Regions from separate parts of the Homo sapiens genome. Here region 2 is linked to region 1. The links are contacts of gene promoters, found by promoter capture Hi-C in blood cells and fetal thymus (Javierre and others, 2016). All regions are on one chromosome and are shown on one strand. The core of a region is centred on a gene start or on the middle of the fragment in contact, and the rest is flanking DNA. Distances in the headings are between cores, read along the strand shown. Region 1 overlaps CPNE3 (copine 3). Region 2 holds the start of OSGIN2 (oxidative stress induced growth inhibitor family member 2).

Region 1 (7,152 bases), core at 2,677-5,176:
TGAACCCAGGAGGCGGAGGTTGCAAGTGAGCCAAGATCTCCATTGCACTCCAGCATGGGCGACAAGAGTGAAAGTCCATCTCAAAAAAAAAAAAGATTTAACAGCTGAAAAAACCTGAAGCCTGGAGAAGTTACAGCAGTTGCCCAAATGCCTGCCATTGTGGTGTGACTAACACAGAACCAGGCATTTCTTTTTTTTTTTTTTTGAGACGGAGTCTTGCTTTGTCACCCAGGCTGGAGTGCAGTGGCGCAATCTTGGCTCACTGCAACCTCTACCTCTGGGTTCAAGTGATTCTCCTGCCTCAGCCTTCCAGGTAGCTGGGACTACAGTGCACCATGCCCAACTAATTTTTGTGTTTTTAGTAGACACAGGGTTTTGCCATGTTGACCAGGCTGGTCTCAAACTCCTGACCTCAGGTGATCTGCCCAGTCCATTTCTTTTGACACCTGATCCAGTGATTCTTCCTTTTTGTTTCTTTTTTGTTTTGTTTTATGTATATTTATGCTTGACATTATTCCCTATCTTCATTTCTGGTATCCTGTGGTAGTGATTAAAAAAATACATCTGGGCATCACTTTGTTACTAAATACAGAACAAGCGTAGTTTAAATTCTTTTAATGTGAGTTTTTTACTCTCAGAGTCTGGATATTAAGTGCAGTATATTCCTGAGAATAAATGTTGCTGCTCTAAGACGATCTAATGGCACCTACACACATGGCAGACCTGTGTGTGTAGAGACACACTAGCAAGGAGAACTTGCTTTCTTAGCCTTAAGTAATTTACAATTTAATGGGTTATCTTGAAGAGGAACTGCTATGAGGTAAATAAAATATAAACCATTCCAGTTCTTCCATTCTTTGGCAAGCTTTTGTTATTCTGGTTACGTTTGTTTAAGAACCATATAACTAGTTTTAGCCTCAGTATTAACCTTGTAATTTTAAAGTTCCTATTTTATTAATTTGTGTCAGGCTGAATATTACTTTTGATATTAACAAGACTTAAGGAAATTAATAGAGAATATTGCTGTTATACTAAGTAACTATTTTTTGATATTGTTTTTAATTGAAAAATCATAATTGTTTACATCTATGGAGTTTATTTATTTTTACTAATACTATTTTTACTTGACAGCTAATTAACTATTAATTAGAGGCTTTAGTGCTCTGAAGGGATTTTGGCATAAAGGGGAAAATACCTGGGTTTATGCTGTGGTGGTGACACTTACTAGCTTTGTGATCCCATGTAAGTAATTTAACCTTTTTGAAGAAATTTATATTTTTTTCCTAATATATACTATGCATTATTTTGAAGATTAACAATGTGCTGAAAATTATCAACATATTCTGGGTCAATCAATTCAGACACTGGAGTGCCTTATATTATAGTCATACCTGTGACATATGGACCTTCCACCATGTAGTAATCATTATCCTGCCTAACTCACAGAGTTTTTGTAAGGTTCAGAAGATAATATATTATTTGGAAGCACTTTGAAAATTGTAAAAAAAAACAAAATCTGTCCAGTTGTATGGAATTATTAACTATCTTTTCTTTCCCCTTATTCTTCTACTCCCCACTTTCTTACTGTCTACCCTTGAATGTAAGGGTGAAAAAGAAATCTGGTAGTCAGTAGCAATAATACTGCAAATTCTTTTTGTAGTGGAGTATAGTTTTAATCGTCAGTAAAAGTAGAAATCTCTGGGGAGCTTCTTCAGCTCCAAGAGCACTTTGATTGTTCCCTGTCTGTACCACACAATTTTATACTCTTGTATACTATTTCTATGTATACATAGTTAGCTAAGTAGCTAAGTATTTATTTCGTTTTTGCCTCCCCCAACCCTCACTTTTGGAACACCTAGAAAGTATTCAGTAAGTAATTGTTTTATGAATGGGTCTCCCCAATTTGATTATAATGAGCTACAAGCGCTTCTGTTGCTGTATAATGTCCCTGCTGTCCTTAGCAAAATAATGGGTTTACAGTAACCTGGTAATAAATACATTTGCTAGTCTGACCTGGGAACTCTGAGGAGCATAGCAGCCTTTGGATTTACAGCCATATTACCTGACGCCCGCTGCTTTTTTTTTTTTTTTTTTTTTTTTTTTTTAGTAGGGGAACACTTATTACTATTCTGAGCAACACAATTTGAGAAACACTGCCTAGGGTGTGTTTTGCTGATGTTGCTGGGCCGGTTCCAGCTGCCCCAGGGTTGCCCTTGCTTGCTTTCAATAGCGGTCAGGCAGGATGTACTGCAGAATAGCAGTTAGTGAATCATGGTATTAGAACCAGAAAGAACTTCTGAGAATTTTTTACATTAGGCCAGTCTCTTCATTTTTCAGCTGAAGACTGAAGGAACTTTACTAAAGGGATTTGTAGATAGGCACCGACTTCTCCTTCACAATTGTTTTAGGACACATTTTGAGTCACTGACATGAGCCTGCGCTCCCCTCACCTGCGTACCTTATCTATACTCAAGGCTGACTATTTCACCAAATTAATTTTATGTAAATCCCAAAAATCATTATTGTTTCAAGAAGCTTTTCATAAGTAAGGATGAGAAAGCTGCTTTATGTCTTACTACTTAATAACAAGCCATCTATGCTGAGACAATCAATTAAAATCCCTGACTCAGTAATAAAATAATTGCTACAATTCATAGAGTGTCTATTATATGCTGAGCATGCTACAGACCTACAGTTGTCAGGGTTTTTATTAAGTTTATTTTTCTCTCTTAGCCTTATTTACATTGAAGGACTAGTGTCAGGGTTTTTTAATATCCCCATTTTATAAATTAGGAAATTGAAGTTCAGATAGACAATTTGGCAGAGGTGACACATCCAAATTAGTGATGGGAAAGAAATTTGAATGACACACGCTGACTCCAGCATTATTGCTCTTTCTGCTACAAATAACCTGTGCCAGATGTCATGCTTCAGGAAGAAGAGGAAGTGGTAAAATATGTTCGCTGCCCACAGTTCACAGTATATAGACGGAGTGATGAGCCACAAATACAAGTAACAATAGTGGAAAGAAAATAGAATCAGTGCCATAACAGCATGAGGGGTATCAGCAGGGTATCAGCAACAGCTGTATGAATGAAGTATCATTTGAAGTGTTTGTTTTGTTTTGTTTTGAGATAGAGTCTCACTCTGTCGCCCAGGCTGGAGTGCAGTGGTACCATCTCGGCTCACTGCAACCTTCACCTCCTTGGTTCAAGTGATTCTCCTGCCTCAGCCTCCCGAGTAGCTGGGATTACAGGCACCTGCCACCACACCTGGCTAATTTCTGTATATTTAGTAGAGACAGGGTTTCACCATGTTGGCCAGGCTGAGTTCTTGAACTCCTGACCTCAAGTGATCCCCCTACCTCGCCCACCCAAAGTGCTGGGATTACAGGTGTGAGCCACCGTGCCCGGCCTGAAGTGGATCTTGAAGAACTTGGGTGGGCAGAGGTAGCTGTTCAGGTAGATTAGGGGTAGATGTTGGCAGAGCCATGAATTCCAGGCTTAGTTCATTGGACTATCACTTTTTAATCAGAAGTGATAAAACCATAATGTGAATGGAGAGAAAATGGCAGTGGGAATACCCATTAGGAGACTATTATATAAGGCAGGTGAGAGATACAGAAGACCTGAAGTTAGGGTTGTGACTCTGGGTATGGGAAAGCGGCTGTATCTCCATGTTTGGGAGAGATTTGGGGTTCTAGTAGGCAGAATCTCTATGACATCTTTACTGGATAAATCTAAGAGTAGGTTTAAGGAGGAATGGGAAAAGAGGAAGTAGATAAGACTTCAGGATTTTCAGCCAGGGCATGGGAATGACCAGATGCCTTAAATTTCACATATCAGGTACCACTTTAAATATTAGGTCTTAATTCTCAGCTCCTTATGTTTATCTCTGTTATAATATTGATTCAGAACGTTAGGGTGACTGGGAGAATTATTGATATATTTGGTGTTTCTAGGGATTATTTGCATTTCAGAAGACGTGTTTGGATCAAATTTTGTCCAACAAGTAATAATCTGTACAGTAGGGAAGCTGTTGTCTAATCCTAGGGATTATTTGTGTTTTCTATCCTGCTCTTTAAGGAGTAAAATACTACATAGAATTCTTCTTTAGTTGCTCATGCATTCTTTGCCAGGTGACTTATCCCAGCCAAATCTTTCATACTAAAAGAGTATAAAACGTTTGTTTTATTTTTCCTCATCATAATTTTTTTTTTTTTTTTTTTTGCGACAGGGTCTTGCTCTGTCACCCAGGCTGCAGTGCATAGCTTACTGTGGCCTCGAACTCCTGAACTTGAGTGAGCCTCCTGCCTTAGCCTACTGAGTAGCTGGGACTACAGGTGCATGCCACCTTGGCTGGCTAATTTTTTCATTTTTCTTTCTTTCTTTCTTTCTTTTTTAGACGGAGTCTTGCTCTGTCGCCCAGGTTGGAATGCAATGGCGTGATCTCACTGACCGAAACCTCCGCCTCTGAGGTTCAAGTGATTCTCCTGCCTCAGCCTCCTGAGTAGCTGGGATTACAGGCATGTACCACCATGCCTGGCTAATTTTTGTGTTTTTAGTAGAGACGGGGTTTCACCAGGTTGGCCAGGCTGGTCTCAAACTCCTGACCTGGGATAATCCACCTGCCTCGGCCTCCCGAAATGCTGGGATTACAGGTGTGAGCCACTGCGCCCAGCCTAAAATTTTTTGTTTTTGTAGAGATGAGGTCTCTGTTGCTCAGGCTGGTCTTGAACTCCTGGGCTCAAGCAATCCTACTGCCTCAGCCTCCCAAAGTGCTGGGATTACAAGTATGAGCCAATATGCCCAGCTCCCATTATGATTTGTGGATAAAGTATACTATTGCTCTCTTAAAAAATTGTATATCATGTACTGGATAATTACATTAAAAGGAAATGAAAACAGTATCTTCATGAATATTACCATTAACAAGATTCCAGACCCTAGTGTTTATGTAATTTCTTCCATTTGCCATTCAGCCATAATGGGTTTCAGGATAACATTGAGACCAGCACAGAGTCATTTTTCAGAGAGGAATGCTGCTAATAGAAGAAATTTGTTTCCTGGCAGCAATGCAGTAGTATAACTGTCAGCAATTGGTTAAATAATCAGCTGTGCCTGGCATGTTGTTTTTGTAGCTTTTGTATAAGCATTTTTAGGGAAAAAAATAATGCTCTTCTGATATGTGGTGTCTCTTTGCTGTGAGACTGACTTCACATGTAGATGTCTTCATTCTCTGTTGAATTCTTCCCATCCTTGGAAATTTGAAGACTTTTCTGCTGGCTGGTAGAGAATCCTCTACATGTTTTTTTGGGGGAAGCTTTAGCTATTGTTGCTCATTCTATGTTCATCCACAGGGCACTGCATTATGCTTGATATTGCTGACATACAACTTACAAGACTCTAAACTACCTTATGCAAAAAAAAATCATACAACTCACATTTATTTTACAGATTCTGTATTAGATGCAAAAAAACAGTATGCCTGGCACGTGCCAGATTTACAAATTTACTTGCATTATCTCCATTTTTACTGATGAGGAAATCTAGGCCCAGGAAGTTGAAGTTACTTATACGTGGTCACACAGCAAGTGCCAGATGGAGGGTTCAACCGGGCGGTGGCGGGCACCTGAAATCCCAGCTACTTGGGAGGCTGAGGCAGAGAATTGCTTGAACCTGGGAGGCGGAGGCTACAGTGAGCTGAGATCGCGCCACTGCAGTACAGCCTGGACGACAGAGCAAGACTCCGTCTCAAAAAAAAAAAAATTGGGTGTGTGCATTACCCCAAATTTGATCTTGTTCCTGTAATGCAGTAATCTGTTACTATTAGTGCAATAGGAATTCAAAGGAACACCTTAGTATGGATTGGAATAATCAGGATAATCATGGAATGGAATAATAAAAAAATATGAAACATGGGATAGATAAGATAGGATCAGACCCTAGAGGCAGATAGTGATAAAATGATAATAAAATGTGAGCACTTACTGTATACTAGGCACATATATAAATATATAAGATACATATTTTTTGTTTGTTTGTTTTGTTTTTTTTTTGAGATGGGGTCTCACTCTGTCACCCAGGTTGGAGTGCAGTGGCATGATCTTGGCTCACTGCAAACTCTGCCTTCCAGTCTCAAGCGATCCTCCTACCTCAGACTCCAGAGTAGCTGGGATCACAGGCTCATGCCACCACACCCAGCTAGTTTTTGTATTTTAGTAGAGACGAGGTTTCACCATGTTGACCAGGCCGGTCTTGAACTCCTGACCTCAAGTGATCCACCTGCCTTGGCCTCCCAAAGTGCTGGGAGTACAGGTGTGAGCTGCCGTGCCCGGCCAGCTTTGTTTTTAAACGGGTTTTCTAGCTACTTCTAAGACTATGCAACCTACTTCATTTTTCTTAGTCTCTATTTATTTAGGAATCTTAGTATTGATTTTTGACATATGTTGAGGACTGCTACTGTTTTTAGAGAGTTCAATAGAATTATCAAAATTTTTAAATAAGATGTTAGTTGTTTTTTGACATTACAAAGGGCTCTTCTAATGATAATCTTTGTTACTTCAGATTTGCTTAGGCATTTTATACAGCACAGGAATCTTACTGCCATATTTAAATATAACAAGATAATGAGTGGATTTGTTTCTGTGGTCCTAGAACTTCAGCTAAATCTCAAAGTGGAGGGCAAAGGGCATTAAATACTATCCCATTGCAAGGATGTTTGCCAGCAGCTCTAGGGTAGTAGGTACCTTCCCTCCTGCAGAACCTGCCCTAGCACCATCAACCTCCACTGGCTAAGTGGACATCCAGATGGGAAATGCAATGCCTAGTTCCTTTTCATGGTGACACCTGCAGCCCCTTTCATTCCCTGGGTTCATGGATGAAGGCAGCTCACCAGCAATACTACATTCCTTCTCAAGTCCAGCCCCTATCATATGCTCCATCCCATCCCCAGTCCTTTTCATATATTGATTGGAGACTGGGGAAGGAGGGGTCTATGGAAGTTAAGCTAACTCTGATATTTCTTAGCAAGTCATAAGGGAAGATGGGCCACACCTTCTCTCTGTAGAATAGTAGGCTTGTCAACCTTGTCTACACATTAGAATCATCCAAGGAACTGATGTCAGGGTTGTACCCTAAACCAGTTAAAATC
Region 2 (6,758 bases), core at 2,983-5,482, 3.4 Mb after region 1:
AAAAACAGACATAAAGACCAGTGGAAGAGGGCCCAGGCACAGTGGCTCATGCCTGTAATGCAAGCATTTTAGGAGGCCGAGGCGTGTGGATCCCTTGATGTCAGTTTGAGATCAGCTTGGCCAACATGGTGAAACCCTGTCTCTACTAAAAGTACAAAAATTAGCTGGGCATGGTGGCTCACACCAGTATTCCCAGCACTTTGAGCACTTTTGGAAGGCCGAGGCGGCACTTGAGGCCGGGAGTTCGAGACAAGTCTGGCCAACATGGTGAAACCATGTCTCTACTAAAAATACTAAACTTAGTCAGGCATGGTGGCACGCACTTGTAATCTCAGCTACTTGAGAGGCTGAGGAAGAAGAATCGCTTGAACCCAAGAGGTGGAGGTAAAAGTGGGCCGAGATCTTGCCACTGCACTCCAGCCTGGGTGACAGAGGCTGACTCCATTTCAAAAAAAAAAAAAAACAATGGAACAGAATAGAGAACCCAGAAACAACTCCATATATCTGCAGTCATTTTCGACAAAGGTGCCAAGAATACACATTGGAGAAAGGACGGTCTGTTTAATGAATGGTGCTGGGAAAACTGGATAGCCATATGCAGAAGAATGAAAGTAGACCTCTATCTCTCACCATACACACAAATCAAATCAAAACGGATTAAAGACTTAAATCTAAGATCTGAAACTATGAAACTACTAAAAGAAAACATTGAGGAAGCTCTCCAGGACATTGGGCTGGGCAAAAGAGTTGCTGAGTAATACCCTGAAAGCACAGGCATCCAAAGCAAATATGGATAAATGTGACCACATCAAGATAAAAAGCTTCTGCACCGCAAAGGAAACAATCAACAAAGAGACAATCCACAGAATGGGAATAAAATATTTGCAAACTATCCATCTGACAAGGGATTAATAACCAGTATATATAAGGAGCATGAACAACTTAATAGGAAAAATTATAATAATCTGAGTTTAAAAAGGACAAAAGGGCCAGGCACCATGGTTCCCACCTGTAATCCCAGCACTTTGGGAGGCCAAGGCAGGAGGATCACTTGAGGCCAGGAGTTCAAGACCAGCCTGGGCAACATGGGCAGGCTGTTTTTTTGTAGAAACCCCATCTCTACAAAAAAAAAAAAAAGAAAAAAAAATTAAAAGAAAATTTAGCTAGGTGTGGTGGTGCACACCTCTAGTCCCAGCTACTCAGGAGGCTGAAGTGGGGGGATTACTTGAGCCCAGGAGTTCGAAGCTTCAGTGAGCTAGATCAAACCACTGCATTCCAGCCTGGATGACAGAGCAAGAACCTATCTCTCAAAAAAAAAAAAAATTTAAAATGGGCAAAAGATGTGAATAGACATTTACCAAAAGAAGGCATACAAATGACAAATAAGTATATGAAAAGGTGCTCAACATCACTCATCATCAGAGAAATGCAAATCAAAACTACAATGAGATATCATTTCATCATAATTAAAATGGCCTATATCCAAAAGACAGGCAATAACAAATGCTGATGAGGATGTGGAGAAAAGAGAACCCTTGTACACTGTTGGTGGGAATGTAAATTAGTACAGCCACTACGGAGAATAGTTTGGATATTCCTCAAAAAGCTAAAAATAGAGCTACCACATGATCCAGCAATGCCACTGATAGGTATATACCCCAAAGAAAGGAAATCAGTATATCCTAAGATATACTTGCACTCCCATGTTTATTGCAGCACTGTTCACAACAGCCAAGATTTGGAAACAACCTAAGTGTCCATCAATAGACAAATAAAGAAAATGTGGTTTATGTACACAACGTAGTAGCATTCAGCCATAAAAATGAATGAGATCCTGTTATTTTCAACAAAATGGATGCAACTGATGTCACTACTTTAAGTGAAATAGGCCAGGTACAGAATGACAAACTCTGCATGTTCTCACTTATTTGTGGGAGCTAAAAATTAAAACAACGGAACTAACAGAGAATAGAATGATGGTTACAAGGCTGGGCAGGGTAGTGGGGAATTAAGGGGCAGAGTGGGGATGGTTAATAGGTACAAAAGTATAGACAGAATTAGATCTAGTATTTGACAGCACGAGAGTGACTAGTCAACGATAATTCATTGAACATTTTAAAATAACTAAGTATAATTAGATTGTTTGTAGCACAAAGAAAGGATAAATATTTGAGGTGATGGATACTCCATGTACCCTGATGTGATTATTACTTATTGTATGCCTGTATCAAAATCTCATGTACCCCATAAATATATATACCATGTACTCACAAAAAATAAAAATTAAAAATTAAAAGAATTATCTGGATTGGACTGGCATAGCTTTCAGGAATTTATATGTTTATTTTTAATTTTTTTGGTTACATAGTAGGTGTATATATTTAAAAATACGGAACGCTTCACGAATTTGCGTGTTATCCTTGGGAAGGGGCCATGCTAATCTTTATATTATTCTAATTTTAGTATATGTGCTGCAGAATTAAGCACTGCTTTTAGGAATGTAGGTACTTTATTTATTTATTTTTGAGACGGAGTCTCGCTCTGTCGCCCAGGCTGGAGTGCAGTGGCGCGATCTTAGCTCACTGCAAGCTCCGCCTCCCGGGTTCACGCCATTCACCATGGTCTCGATCTCCTGACCTCGTGATCTGCCCGTCTCGGCCTCCCAAAGTGCTGGGATAACAAGCGTGAGCCACCGCGCCCGGCCAGGTACTTTATTATTATTTTTTGATACGGAGTCTCACTCTTTGGCCCAGGCTGAGTGCAGTGGCGCGATCTCAGCTCACTGCAACCTCCGCCTCCCGGTTTCAAGCGATTCTCCTGCATCAGGCTCTTGAGTAGCTGGGATTACAGGCGCGTGCCACCACGCCCGGGGCTAGGTTTTGTATTTTTAGTAGAAACGGGTTTCACCATGTTGGTCAGGCTGGTCTGGAACTTCTGACCTCAGGTGATCCGTCCGCCTCGGCCTTCCAAAAGGAATTTAGGTACTTTAAAATGCTGTTATGTATGTTAACGGAAAAGTAACTACATGCTTCATTTTCAGAACCAACATTCAAATGAAATGAACGTGTCAAATCGACAAAAGCTCAAAAAAGAGAAAAACATATAATACTTAAAAGTGGTTAATATACTCTTAGATTGCATAACTCTGGGGCAGTCTGAGTCCTATGATTTTCTTTTAAGACCCCAAGACTCTAAAATACCTGCTCATCACAAGTTTGTTCAGTGACAACATTCAGTAAAACTTAACATTTGTTTTACAAAATTATGTTGAAAGATATAAACATAAACGTATATTTGAAGCACAAAAATAATTACGGCTTTTTTTGGAAGCGGAGTTAGACATTTCCGTAGAAAAGTAGATGCAATCAATCTCTCCTGATTTTTGTCCTCCCCACCTTTAATTTTTGACAAACCGAATAACGACACTCACTATTGAGTACTTTTCTAACTCCCTATTGCATCACAAACGCCCGCAGGGGCTTAAAAAGCAGCAGGGGTTCCTGCCCTTCCCCACACTGGCCGGTGTGGTCTGGGGCGGGCCTGATGAGCACCTGGATTTTCACCCGGCGTGCTGGTAATTCCTACACTTGTGGGTGTTTGAGAGACATGAAGAGGGGAGGATGACCTCTTCCCGGAAGCGGGACTTCCATAAAAGAAGCGTGGTGGGCGGGTCCCGGGCACCTGTGGTTTGGTGAGTCCTCCAGGTAACTGTGATGCGGGGGTCAGCGGGAGAGGCACCCGGAAGCTCCCGGCGTCTGCACCCCGGCAGCGCGAGGAAATGCCCAAAGGTGGGTTCTCAGGCGTGGGAAGCTCGACCCTTCCCGGGGTCCTCGGCGAAGTGGCCGAGGCCGCGCCTTACGCAGGGAACTCCGCCGGGCCATCTGGGTGGCCCGAGTTCGCAGCAGCTTCTCTTCCGCTCGTCCCTCGGCCCTCTCGACGCGCACCCACCGGCCTCACCAAGTCGCACGCAGAGGGGCGGCGGGGCGCTGACCGAGGTCTAGGTCTCGATTGCCGCCGGTCGAGCCGCGCAGTTTGCCTGCAGACCTCGGTCCCCTGCCCGCGCAGCCTCGGCTCCATCAGGCCCGGCCCCTCGCCCGGGCCGTGGCTCCACCAATCGCAGACTTCGCCCGCCGCAGCCGCACCTGCGAGGAGGGGCCCGCGCGCCGCTGCAGCCGCCGTCGCAGCGTCCCCGCCCCGCTCCGCCCCTATCGCGGCGCCCCGAGATCACCCGCCTCCGGCGCCTGGCTCCCTGCAGGCGAGGAGCGGAAGCCGCTATCTGGAGGCGGACTCCGGCGCCACAGAGCCGGGGCAGCCGCGGCAACGGCGAGGCGCGAGGCAGGGGCGCCCGGCAGACCCCGCGACCCCGAGCCAGCGGGCGCCCCGAGCGGGCAGCCTCGCCGGGGGAGGCGGAGGCGGCCACGGCGGCCGCGCTCGGGCGCCCCTCGCGCAGCGCTCCATGCCCGTGTGGTGCTGCCGCTGCTCCCTGGCCGGTCATTTCAGGTGACTTCCTCGCCGGGGATGGGAGGGGAGCAGGCGGGGATGCCGCGCTCTCGAGCTTTTTGGCCTGGCCCGGGCCGGGACCGGGGTGGAGGGCGAGCGCCTGGACCGCAGCGTCCTCCCGCCTCGGCCGTCCTGCCTGGCGTGGGGGTGGGGTGGGGTGCGGTGTGGTGGGGTCCTTGCTCCGGGGAGCCCTGCGCTGTTCCCTTTTCTCGCTCTGGACCGCGCGGGTCACGGGACTGCGGGATCGGCTAGGCCGGACTGAGTCGGTTACGGCGAGCTGAGACTTCCCAGTAGTGCAAAGTTTTAGTGAAGGGGGTTCTACGAAGTGCCTGCCTCCCTAAAAAAAAATTATTTCTTAAAAAGTCTTCTAAATAATGTAATGAGTGGAAGGAAGGTAGGGAACTACATTTCAGTGTCATCTAATCACAAATAGATTCTGCCTTGTTAAGATGTTAGCCATGGTAAGACGTGTGTGTTGTAGAAATTTAAAGAATGAGGCGGTTTTACAATCACCTTATGGGGAAAGGTTTTAGGGGTGATAAAATATAATACATTTCTAAAATAAAAGTATGTTTTCTAGATCTAGCACATTTGGTCAACACCTCAGTCATTGGTGGAAAGACCAGACACTAGAAACTGATTTTAACCCTGGGGTGAAGAATGGTTAAGCATAGGGAATACTTTAGTACCTTGCTTTACATATACTGATGTTCCAGAATAATTCTATGTAAGACTTCTTCCCTGGTAAAATATGAAATTTTGATCAAGCCTTCCTAAATAGTGGGTTTCATACAATTTAGGTAACCCATGAACTTGGATGGAAAGAAAGGTATATCATTTCACTAAATTTTAAAAACTAATATTCAGTTAAAATATAAGCAACAAATCACAGTAGTATCTGTGACTGTCATCAGTAGAGATCATAAAATATGTTTATATCACATTGCAGTTAATATAGAAATACTGTTTATACTTATTCAAAATTATAGTAACACATCACTGAATTTATTGAATGCAACAGAGAAGCACATATATATATCGCGTTTACTTTTTATGACTGTTTTAATAGAATTAGTTTTCTTGTAAATCCTGTGTATATTTAAGAACAGTATTCAGAGAAGAGGTTAAGAAGCGTCATCCTATAGTAAAAGAGATGTAAGGCATAGAGAAAGTTTGGAACTTCTTTTGTAACAGCGATAATCCAAGCTTGTCTAACCTCTCAGTGAGTTTAGAATGAGTCTCTAGGTTGTGGATATTAAGGAAAAATTGTTTCATATAATAAACTGCTTGATTTTAACTTTTAGGCAAATTTGTTGACTACTGAGACAGCGGTTTGAAGGTATCAGATTCACTATGGAAACTTTTAGGAAATAGGTTCCCCTAGTGAAACTTGTTAAACTAAATAAAGCCCATGAGAATCTAACATGCCTTTCAGAAAATATTGTGTGAAAGCTATTTGACACCTTTTGATGCACAGTGTAGGATTCATATTCTTTTGACTAATACTGGGTGTTGAATACCATTTGCTTCCTGCCGTGCACAGAAATTTGGAGTAGGGAGTGAAAACAAAGTATTTGCTATGTTTTGGTCTGGAGGGACAGAAAGAAAAACAAGCTAGCTGCCAAAGATAAACATTATGATTAATAAACCACACTTTTTATTGCAAAAACAGTTCTGTTGTGTCTAAAGTATTTTTTTTTTTAGTTGTTTACCAGCTCCTTCAGGAATATGTTTCTGATTTACCAGTGCTATTTCTCGAGCAGTTTCAGGTCAGTTCAGGTCATCCTGGCCAACATGGTGAAACCCCGTCTCTACTAAAAACTCAAAAATTAGCCGGGCAGGGTGGTGTGCACCTGTAATCCCAGCTACTCGGGAGGTTGAGGCAGGAGAATAGCTTGAACCCAGGAGACACGTTGCAGTGACCTGAGATCGCACCACTGCATTCCAGCTGGGCGACAGAGTGAGACTGTCTCAAAAAAACAAAAAACACACAAAAAAACACAGATTATAAAACAGGTTGTGACATCTATTGTCTAACATCTGAATGGATAAGTAGTGAGAGAACTGTCCACTAACTTTCCAAAGGAAAAAACCTCTTCCTTCGTGTTCTGGAAGATGAAGAGTGTGACTGACTTCATTTGTGGCTTTAGAACCTTCTTTCCATGTGGTAGTATAAATTTGGTAAATTTTAGGTTCATGGTTCCAAAGACTATAAAAATTCAGTTAGTAAAGCATTTCATTTTAGTTTGAATGATCAT

What was found. The method cuts DNA at HindIII sites, captures the fragments that hold promoters and counts their contacts. A CHiCAGO score of 5 or more calls a contact.
Region 2: the fragment with the promoter of OSGIN2 here is called in contact with a fragment that was not itself captured in region 1 in 1 of 17 cell types (non-activated CD4 T cells); the score reaches 7.5 in non-activated CD4 T cells.

What each region holds. Positions count from the first base shown.
Region 1 is chr8:86,520,473-86,527,624 of GRCh38, forward strand. The region is part of intron 2 of CPNE3 (copine 3); the gene reads left to right. Among named protein-coding and RNA genes, the nearest start is that of CPNE3, 9.6 kb to the left of the region's middle. RefSeq lists enhancers at 2,816-2,915, 2,936-2,985. The HindIII fragment of the contact is 2,787 bases long and covers 2,534-5,320 here.
Region 2 is chr8:89,898,338-89,905,095 of GRCh38, forward strand. OSGIN2 (oxidative stress induced growth inhibitor family member 2) reads left to right here and starts at 4,233. Exons shown (of 6, transcript NM_001126111.3): 1 at 4,233-4,500. The coding sequence starts at 4,457. LOC124901974 (a long non-coding RNA gene) reads right to left here and starts at 4,069. Exons shown (of 2, transcript XR_007061001.1): 1 at 3,682-4,069; 2 at 1-1,119. It also overlaps the pseudogene RNU6-925P. RefSeq lists enhancers at 2,112-2,877, 2,878-3,643 and silencers at 3,937-4,235, 3,985-4,324, 4,355-4,804, 5,798-5,857. The HindIII fragment of the contact is 4,461 bases long and covers 1,244-5,704 here.